Regions from separate parts of the Homo sapiens genome. Here region 2 is linked to region 1. Evidence: promoter capture Hi-C in 16 types of primary human blood cells and fetal thymus (Javierre and others, 2016). All regions are on one chromosome and are shown on one strand. Each heading gives the region's core, a stretch centred on a gene start or on the middle of the fragment in contact. The rest is flanking DNA. Distances are from core to core; before and after follow the strand shown. Region 1 holds the start of ITLN1 (intelectin 1). Region 2 has its middle 32 kb from the start of ITLN2.

Evidence for each region. Contacts are between HindIII fragments. The CHiCAGO score rates a contact against its expected background, and 5 or more counts as called.
Region 2: a fragment that was not itself captured here is called in contact with the fragment with the promoter of ITLN1 in region 1 in 4 of 17 cell types (megakaryocytes, erythroblasts, naive CD8 T cells and 1 more); the score reaches 6.9 in megakaryocytes.

What each region holds. Positions count from the first base shown.
Region 1 is chr1:160,883,195-160,887,726 of GRCh38, forward strand. ITLN1 (intelectin 1) reads right to left here and starts at 1,986. Exons shown (of 8, transcript NM_017625.3): 1 at 1,867-1,986; 2 at 1,626-1,689; 3 at 234-332. The coding sequence starts at 1,683. The HindIII fragment of the contact is 4,692 bases long and covers 1-1,997 here.
Region 2 is chr1:160,985,006-160,989,486 of GRCh38, forward strand. No RefSeq gene overlaps it. Among named protein-coding and RNA genes, the nearest start is that of ITLN2, 32 kb to the left of the region's middle. RefSeq lists a silencer at 2,394-2,688. The HindIII fragment of the contact is 816 bases long and covers 1,940-2,755 here.

The DNA.
Region 1 (4,532 bases), core at 736-3,235:
TGTTTGGGGCACTGAAAAAGTTCTGCATATGGATAGCTGTGATGGTTGCACAACCTTGAAGGTAATTAATGCCACTGAATTGCACACTTAATGTTGCTTAAAATGGCAAATCTTATGTAAATTATAATATACATATACTTTACCATAATTTTTTAACTAAAAGACAAAAAGACTCCCAGAAGACACAATCCTGATACCCTGACTGAGCTCTGTTTGAATGTTTCATCACTCACCAAATGCACTAGGACATTCGTCTTTGATTTCCTTGCAGCTTCTGGGCAGAGATGGAGACGAAGAACAGGTCCATTCCTTGAAGTAAGTATTAGCCTCATCTAGGGAATACACAGGGTTTATTCTCATTCCCGGTTTGACACAAAACCTACCCTCTCCTATCACTAGTCCCACGCTCATTCCACCACTGTAGCAGAACCTCGCTGCCCGGGTGGTAAGGCCTGAGACAGCCAGTGTCATATCCACTCAGCCCATCAGTGTCACATCCACTCAGCCCATCGGCATCATATCCACTCAGCCCATCCGACCTGACAGCCAGCACAGGCTTAAAGTCTGCCTCCCGCCACAAGACCTGTCCTTGTGCTGGGTCCTGCCCTAAGCACTGAGTAATCAAAGACATTAAAGTTCCCCAGCAAGAGCTTGCCTCTAGAGGGAATTGCTAACAAGTCAACAGAAAATTGTATTGACAAGAATAAATGGTAGAAGAAAGGCAAACTCAAGAGAACAAAAGAAAGACTCTGAGGTAACAGTGGAGAATGGAAACGCCAGACAGTAAGCGGGGCAGTTGCCTGGGAGAAGAAGGCAAGACGGGTTGTCTCATGTCTTAGTCACAGAAGACCTTCCAGTCCAGGTGACATCTTAGCTTATTCTGAGAGAATAAACATGATTTATCAGTAGGAAGCCAATCCAAGGCAGGGAAAACAGCATATCCAAAGGCCTAGAGAAAAAAAAAAAAATACAGCGTAGTCCAGCTGTAGAACTACAAGCTGCTTAATATGGCTGAAACATGGGGTGTGAAGTAGGGAGTGGTGAGACTAATCTCTACTCCAAAAAGTCTGCAAACTATTCGAACAGTCTAGGGGAAAGCTGTGAGGTCAGAGGTGACTGACCTCAGTTTCCTCATACCTAAAACACAGTTAATAAACAGTGCTTTTGCAAAGATGAAGTAAGAAGATATTTCGAAACAGCCTTTTCTTTAAAAAAAAAATTTTTAGACGTGAAGAAAAATATAAATTTTAAAATGTCATTGTTATTCTTGTTGTAGAGAGGAAAACTGTGGAGAGAACATTCTCCAGGCACAAAGCAGACCATGTAGTTCCCATGGAAATCCCACAGCCAAGGCCACAGGAGTGGGCAGTGGCTGGAAGGTGACACAGTTCTTGCCACAGCCCCCTCAGGGCCACACAAAAGCACAGAGCCTGGACCCAGGACATGCCTCAAGCAATACCTTCACTGCCACAGGCCAGATTCCGCCAGAGACCAGAAATCGGCACTCAGTCTACATGCAAGCCAGCCGCTGTGCATCTCAAGGACATGCTCTGTGTCCTGGGAGAGACCAGGATCCCGGAAGTCATCCAGCTGAAGGAACTGCTGTCCCTAGCAGCGTGACTCACCTGTACTCCATCCTCTGGTGGTCGCTATGAGAAACAGCAGGAAGCTGAGTTGGTTCATTGTAATCTAAAGAAAGCAAGATGAAGGTCACCATCTTGGCCATCATTTTTCTCTACATCCCTGCCCCACCCCTGTCCAGTCTTACAAAGACTCCAAAACCCCTTGCCTTTTGTTTAAACTTCACACATCTCTGAGACCAAAAGCAGACCTAAGCTGAAAACAGGATTCCCCCAACTCACAGACCTTGTCTGAGTCTCAGCTGCACTTTCCTTGGGTACAGAGAGCTCCTTCACTCCCTCCCTCCACTGCGCCCTGGAGCTCAACAGAGTGCAGCTTTCTCCAAAAACGCTCCTGATGTGGAATGAGGTGCAGAAAGCTTTATGGAGGAAGCCCAGTGGGGCCAACCAAGGTTTCCAGCCTCACCCTCCCCTGGCACAATGCCCAGTGCAGGGGAGGCTTCTGGTTATCTCGGGGAGGTTATTTATACAGTGGAATTAACAGGTTCTAAAGAAAAAACCAATCCTAAGAATCACCTGCTAGCGTTGTTCCTGGATCTGGGGGTTTCATGGACCTGTGTCAAGTAGGAAGTAGACGAAGAGATTAACAAGAGTTGGTGTTGGTTTTGGGTTTTTGTGCCTTTCTTTCTTGCAAAATAAAAACTTTCTCTAAATTAAGCATCTGTTGGCTTGGCACATTGGCTCAAATCCCAATACTTTGGGAGGCCAAGGCAGAAGGATCACTTGAACTCAGGAGTTTGAGACCAGCCTGGGCAACATAGGGCAACCTCTTCTCTACTAAAAATAAAAGTAAAAAAATTAGCATGGCATGGTGGTACTTGCCTATAGTTTCAGGTGGGGCTGAGGCAAGGCAAAAGGGTAACTTAAGTCCCAGAGATAGAGGATTCAGTGAAATATGACCGTGCCACTGTACTTCAGCTTAGGTATCTCAAAATAAATAAATAAATGAAATTAATCATTGGCCATAATTATCAATTCATAGAAATAGAAAAAGGAAATTTTAACAAAATGGGAAAGTGATCATTTCTGAATAAATTGGTAAAAAGGAATGGAGGGGAAAGAGATACAAAACACACAAAAAAATACGAATAGAAAAGTTTTAAAAAATATATAAATCTTTAGTTTGAATAATTTAGTTTCACACAAAGACTCACTACTTTGTCTTTAATTTTGTCATTTTGCCACAAACGAGGGAAAATTTACTACAGGATTCATTTGAAACTGAATCAATACGAAACCTCTCTGCTGCTTCGAACCTCCTGTCTTATTCCTGCTCCTATGTCATGAAGTTCTCAAATGCTACCCTGCAGCTGTAATAGAATTACTCAGTTCTTCCCCAGTGATATCATACATTTAATACATAATGTCATTATAGCATTAATAATACTGCAACCTTTTCTTACAAAGATTGTGAATATCTTTTTTGTTAAGCTAATATTTCCTATTTGTTGGTTCAAAGTACTGATTTGCAAAAAATACTCACATATTGATAGAAGAAAATAAAATAGCACCCAAGAAGAAAAACTGCAAAAAAAAGTTATACTTTTGTAAATTTAAAATCTATTAGAAGCTATTTGCTCTGTGTATCTGGAAAATAATTAATTAAATAAAATTAAATGTATTAGAAACTAAATTAACTCATCAGTATAGGTAACAAAATGAACATACCCAGCTTTCATATTTACAAACAACAACCTCTTAGAAATAGAGGTCTCAGCCAGGCGCTGCGGCTTACACCTGTAATCCCAGCACTTTGAGGGGACGAGGGTGGCCAATCACTTGAGGTCAGGAGTTCAAGACCAGCCTGATCAACACGGTGAAACCGTGTCTCTACTAAAAATATAAAATTAGCTGGGCACGGTGTCAGGCGCCTGTAATCCAAGCTACTCGGGAGGCTGAGGCAGGAGAATTGCTTGAACCCGGGAGGCAGAGGTTGCAGTGAGCTGAGATCGCACCATTGCACTCCAGCCTGGGCAACAAGAGTGAAATTCCATCTCAAAAAAAAAAAAAAAAAATAGAGGTCTCTAAGTTTACAGTTCACAATAGTAAATACATGTATATAAAGTTAACACCAAGGGCCCAAGATCTAGAGAAAAAAATTAAACATCCCCTCAGTTGTTCATTACTGTGTGTAACTAACCACCTGAAAACTTTATGGCTTAATAAAACAGTAACATATTTGCAAAAATAAAAAAAGAAAATATACACTTATACTACTTTCTTTAGTTGATTCTAAGACACTTTTTTTGTATTTTGACATCTTTAATATCATTATGCATCTCATCCTTAATGGTACATGATGCCATCTAATAGACTGGGAAAACAGTACATCCATTTTAAGGACATTACCCCTTCTAACCATCATCATCCAATCAGTGATTGCGTCCCATTGATTCTACCCCTACTTCCTCTTGAATCTGTTCCCCACACAACTTCCTCCAAACCCCACTGCCCTGGACATTTATTTAGTTCAGTCTGGTTCCTTGTAGCTGTAACTAATAGAAACCCCATCTCAAAGTGGCTTTTCTAAAAAGTAAATCTATTACCTCATGAAATAGAAAATCGAGAGAGAGGGCAAGATCCAGGCTTGCTTGACAGCAGCTTCTCTTTATTTTATTTTATTTATTTATTTATGTTGAGACAGGGTCTCACTCTGTTGCCCAGGCTGGATGGAGTGCAGTGACACAATCTCAGCTTACTGCAGCCTCAACCTTCCAGGCTCAGGTGATCCTCCCACCTCAGCCTCCCAAGCACCTGGGAATACAGGCACACACCACCACACCCTGCTAACTTTTGTATTTTTGGTAGAAACGAGTTCTCACCATGTTGGCCAGGCTGGTCTCGAACTCCTAGGCACAAACAATCCTGCCTCAGCCTCCCAAAGTGCTGAGA
Region 2 (4,481 bases), core at 1,098-3,597, 100 kb after region 1:
ATGCAATTAGTATTTGTCAATTAAAAATAAAAGTTGGCTGGCTGCGGTGGCTCACGCCTGTAATCCCAGCACTTTGGGAGGCAGAGGCGGGTAGATCACCTGAGGTCAGGAGTTCAAGACCAGCCTGGCCAACATGGAGAAACCCCATCTCTACTAAAAATACAAAAATTAGCTGGACGTGGTGATGTGCGCCTGTAGTCCCAGCTACTCGGGAGGCTGAGGCAGGAGAATTGCTTGAACCCAGGAGGCAGAGGTTGCAGTGAGCCAAGATCGCACCATTGCACTCCAGCCTAGGCAACAAGAGACTCCATCTCAAACAAATAAAAAAATAAAAAATAAAAGTTTCGGCTGGGCGTGGTGGCTCACACCTGTAATCCAGCACTTTGAGAGGCCAAGGCGGGTGGATCACCTGAGGTCAAGAGTTCGAGACCAGCCTGGCTAACATGGTGAAACCCCGTTTCTACTAAAAATACAAAAAATTAGCCAGGCGTGGTGGTGCACGCTTGTAGTCCCAGGTACTTGGGAGGCTGATGCAGGAGAACTGCTTGAACCCAGGAGGCAGAGGTTGCAGCAAGCCAAGATCACGCCATTGCACTCCAGCTTGGGCAACAAGAGCAAAACTCTGTCTCTTTTTATTATTACTTTTTTAATAATAATAATAATAAAAGTGTTATGCGTGTCCACATAAGAGACCACCTGAACAGGCTTAGTGTGAGCAACATGGCTGTTTATTCACTTGTGTGTGAGTGGGCTGAGTCCGAGAAAGGGGTCAGCAAAAGGTGGTGGGATTATCATTGGTTCTTATAGGTTTGGGATAGGCGGTGTAGTCAGGAGCAATTTTTTACAGGCAGGGGATGGATATTACAAAGTACATTCTCAAGGGTGGGGAGGATGTTACAAAGTACATTCACAAGGGCAGGGAGGGTGTATTGTCACAAGGGCAGGGAGGATGTATTGTCACAAGGGTGGGGAGGAATGTTACAAAGTACATTCACAAGGACAGGAGTATCACAAAGTACATTATCACAAGGGTGGGGGAATGTCACCGTGGCTTGACCATAGTGCAGCCAGCTCAGAGGACCTTACAAAAAGTTTCATACTTGCACGTGTTTTCTTGTGGCAAAAATATAAAACATTTAATTTCTGGGATTCTTTTTTTTTTTTTTTTTTTTTTGAGATGTAATCTCACTCTGTTGCCCAAGCTGGAATGCAATGGCGAGGACTCAGCTCACTGCAAACTCCGCCTCCCAGATTCAAGCAATTCTCCTGCCTCACCCTCCAGAGTAGCTGGGATTACAGGCGCCCACCACCACGCCTGGCTAATTTTTGTATTTTTAGTAGAGACAGGGTTTCACCATATTGGCCAGGCTGGTCTCGAACTCCTGACCTTGTGATTTGCCTGTCTCGGCCTCCCAAAGTGCTGGAATTGCAGGGTGAGCCACCACGCCTGGCTGGGATCATCTTTTTTTCTACAGAGAGAAAATCAATTGTATCTCTACCAGGCAAACAATTTGCATTTGTATTAATATGAACAGGGATCATTTGTATCACTGTCAGGCTTCTACATATTTAACTTTTCTTTCTAGAGTTGCAAAACAGTACAAGACAAGGAAGGATACTGACCTGTAGAGAATCAGAAAACCCCCAGAAGCATCCTGTCCTCTAGTCTAGACAAATCCTAGTAATCCACTGGAAGGATGCCTGTATTTGTCCATTTCAGAAACTGTCACAATTTTTCCTTAACTAACAGCAGGAATTTTGATAGCCAAAAGTCATATTGTTTATTATCACTGTGGGAGCCAAGGCCTTTGGCTCCCTGAAGTTTGCTGAAAATCACTGACGCAAGGCAGATTAATAGGAAAAAAGGCATACAAACTTATTTAATATGTATACATAGAAGCCTTCAGAATGAAGACCCAACCTCCCAGTGAGGTGCAAAAGCTTATACGCCATCATGAGGTTACAGAAAGAATGAGTTTGGATCCTGCGGGAGAAAAGGAATTCTGTTGATGGGCAATAAATGATTACTAAAGAGAATGATTTGATCAGGAAACAAATTAACTTGTAAATAGTTTTCTTTGGAATTTAGATGACCATGAGAAGCAGGCATTAACTCATGAAAAGGTCTGTTCAGGTGTGGTTACATTTTTGGTCTTACAGGAGGAAAAGAAACCTACTGTTCTCCTTGGAGGGTCTGGATCTTAGGCAAATAAAGGAACTTCAGCTTTTTGGGAGAGACCGTGTGGAGCGGGGAAGGTCAGAGAGATCTTCAGGTTGCTTCTTCGGTTCAGTACTATATTTGGGGGTATCGATTTATAAACCCCAACATTACCTAATGTATTGTTCCCGATGAGCCTCCCTCCAATCCCTTTTCCCCTGTATCCCAATGGCCGGAAACTTGTGGAAATTCTTCCCAAGGCCTCTAAAAGCAGCACTTGCTTTTGCCTGGTTGCTAATGCAAGTTGTGAATTGCGCACGTGAATCACTATCACTGTCCATCCACCACTCTCTTGCTCTAAGGCATTGAAACGGCACTGCAGAGAGACGCCAGGTAACAAAGACTCTCCTTAACCAAGCTCTAGCATGGCTTCTAGCAACTTAAGGCCTTGTCCCTAGGAGGACCTCAGCCCCCCGCTTAAAATGCCTGCCTGAAAAAGCTCATCGCTGTCAGAAAAATTTACTGTGCATCCCAGCCCAAACCTAGCAATAGACACAGGCCCCTGAACTTCATCTTAGTGCAATTACTTAGAAAGAAAGCTTGCAATTAAAACATCTTTCTCTGCCTCTTTGAGATGTAAATCTTCTACCCAGAGCTATTTTCACTGGGACCTGAGAGTTTCTTTGAAATGCAAACATTTGAGGAAATAAATCTTGCTCCAGCTCCCAACCAGGTGGGTGCCTTGCTCTAACTTGCACTACTAGCTCCTGTCGTAAAAATAGGTGCTTATTTCTCTTCTGGACAAGAGCCAATTCACAAATCCAGATTGTCTAGTCACATGGAGCAATTCTCCTTAATATCTTCATGCCTATCCCTTAGCACATCCCAGCCTTCAAAAGGCCTCCTGCATTTTTTTTTTTTTTAAGGAAGTTAAGTTCAGTTCACCTTGGGCCCTCTTCCCTACTGCAATAGTTACTACTTAAAAAAACCTATCCTAGGCCGGGTGCAGTGGCTCACGCCTGTAATCCCAACACTTTGGGAGGCCGAGGTGGGCAGATCACCTGGGGTCAAAAGTTCAAAACCAGCCTGACCAACATGGAGAAACGCTGTCTCCACTAAAAATACAAAAAAATTAGCCGGGCGTGGTGGTGCATGCCTGTAATCCCAGCTATTCAGGAGGCTGAGGCAGGAGAATCGCTTGAACCCCGGACACGGAGGTTGCGGTGAGCCAAGATCGCGCCATTACCCTCCAGCCTGGGCGACAAGAGTGAAACTCCATCTCAAATAAATAAATAAATACCTATCCTTACTTCTTGTCTAAACTATTGTCTGGCTTTGTTTAGCTTTGACACAGGCTTTATAAGCCCACAAGTAACTTTAAGGCAAAGCCTTATAAATTCATCCAAGGCACTGACATTGAAGAATGTCTAACATTTCTGTGATATGCTTCAATCTCACTTCCAGCCTGTTCCAAACCTTCTTTTTAGTTTTCTACTTCCAGAGACTTTTTCCTTTGGTTAATCACCTTGTAATTCTTAGGTCTGATTCTCGAGCTAGCACATTTCAGCCCCTACAAATAAATGCCTTCTCCCAAAATGTGCAGCTCTTTTGCCATGCTACATTCTATTTGTCTTTCTAGTACTATTTTAATAAGTATCATAGCTCAAGCATGATCAACCCTCAGCTTCTTTATATGGTTATAGGAGTCTCTGACAAGCCTGAGGACAAGCATGTTCTGCATATTTTTTCTTGTCAACTTTTTTTAATGTGCAAAACATTAACATGGATCCAGAAGTCAAAACTAGACAAAATGGTAAATAAACTCAGAGAAGTAATACTCCATCATGTATCTATTTTTATTTTTATTTTTTTGAGACAGAGTCTCGCTCTGTCGCCCAGGCTAGAGTGCAGTGGCGCGATCTGGGCTCACTGCAAGCTCCGCCTCTGGGGTTCACACCATTCTCCTGCCTCAGCCTCCCAAGTCGCTGGGACTACAGGTGCCCACCACCACGCCCGGCCAATTTTTTGTATTTTCAGTAGAGACTGGGTTTCACCGTGTTAGCCAGGATGGTCTCGATCTCCTGACCTCGTGATCCGCCCGCCTCAGTCTCCCAAAGTCCTGGGATTACAGGTGTGAGCCACCGCGCCCGGCCGATCATGTATCTATTTCATCTAGACCTTATCTACCTCTTGAAATAACCAATTTAGTTTATTTTCCTTCCTGTGTTTGTTTCTGCAAAAATAAGCAAATATAGTATGCTTTCTTATTTCCCCTCCTTTCGTATCAAAAAGGTGGCCTTTTTTTTTTTAATTTTCTCATAGA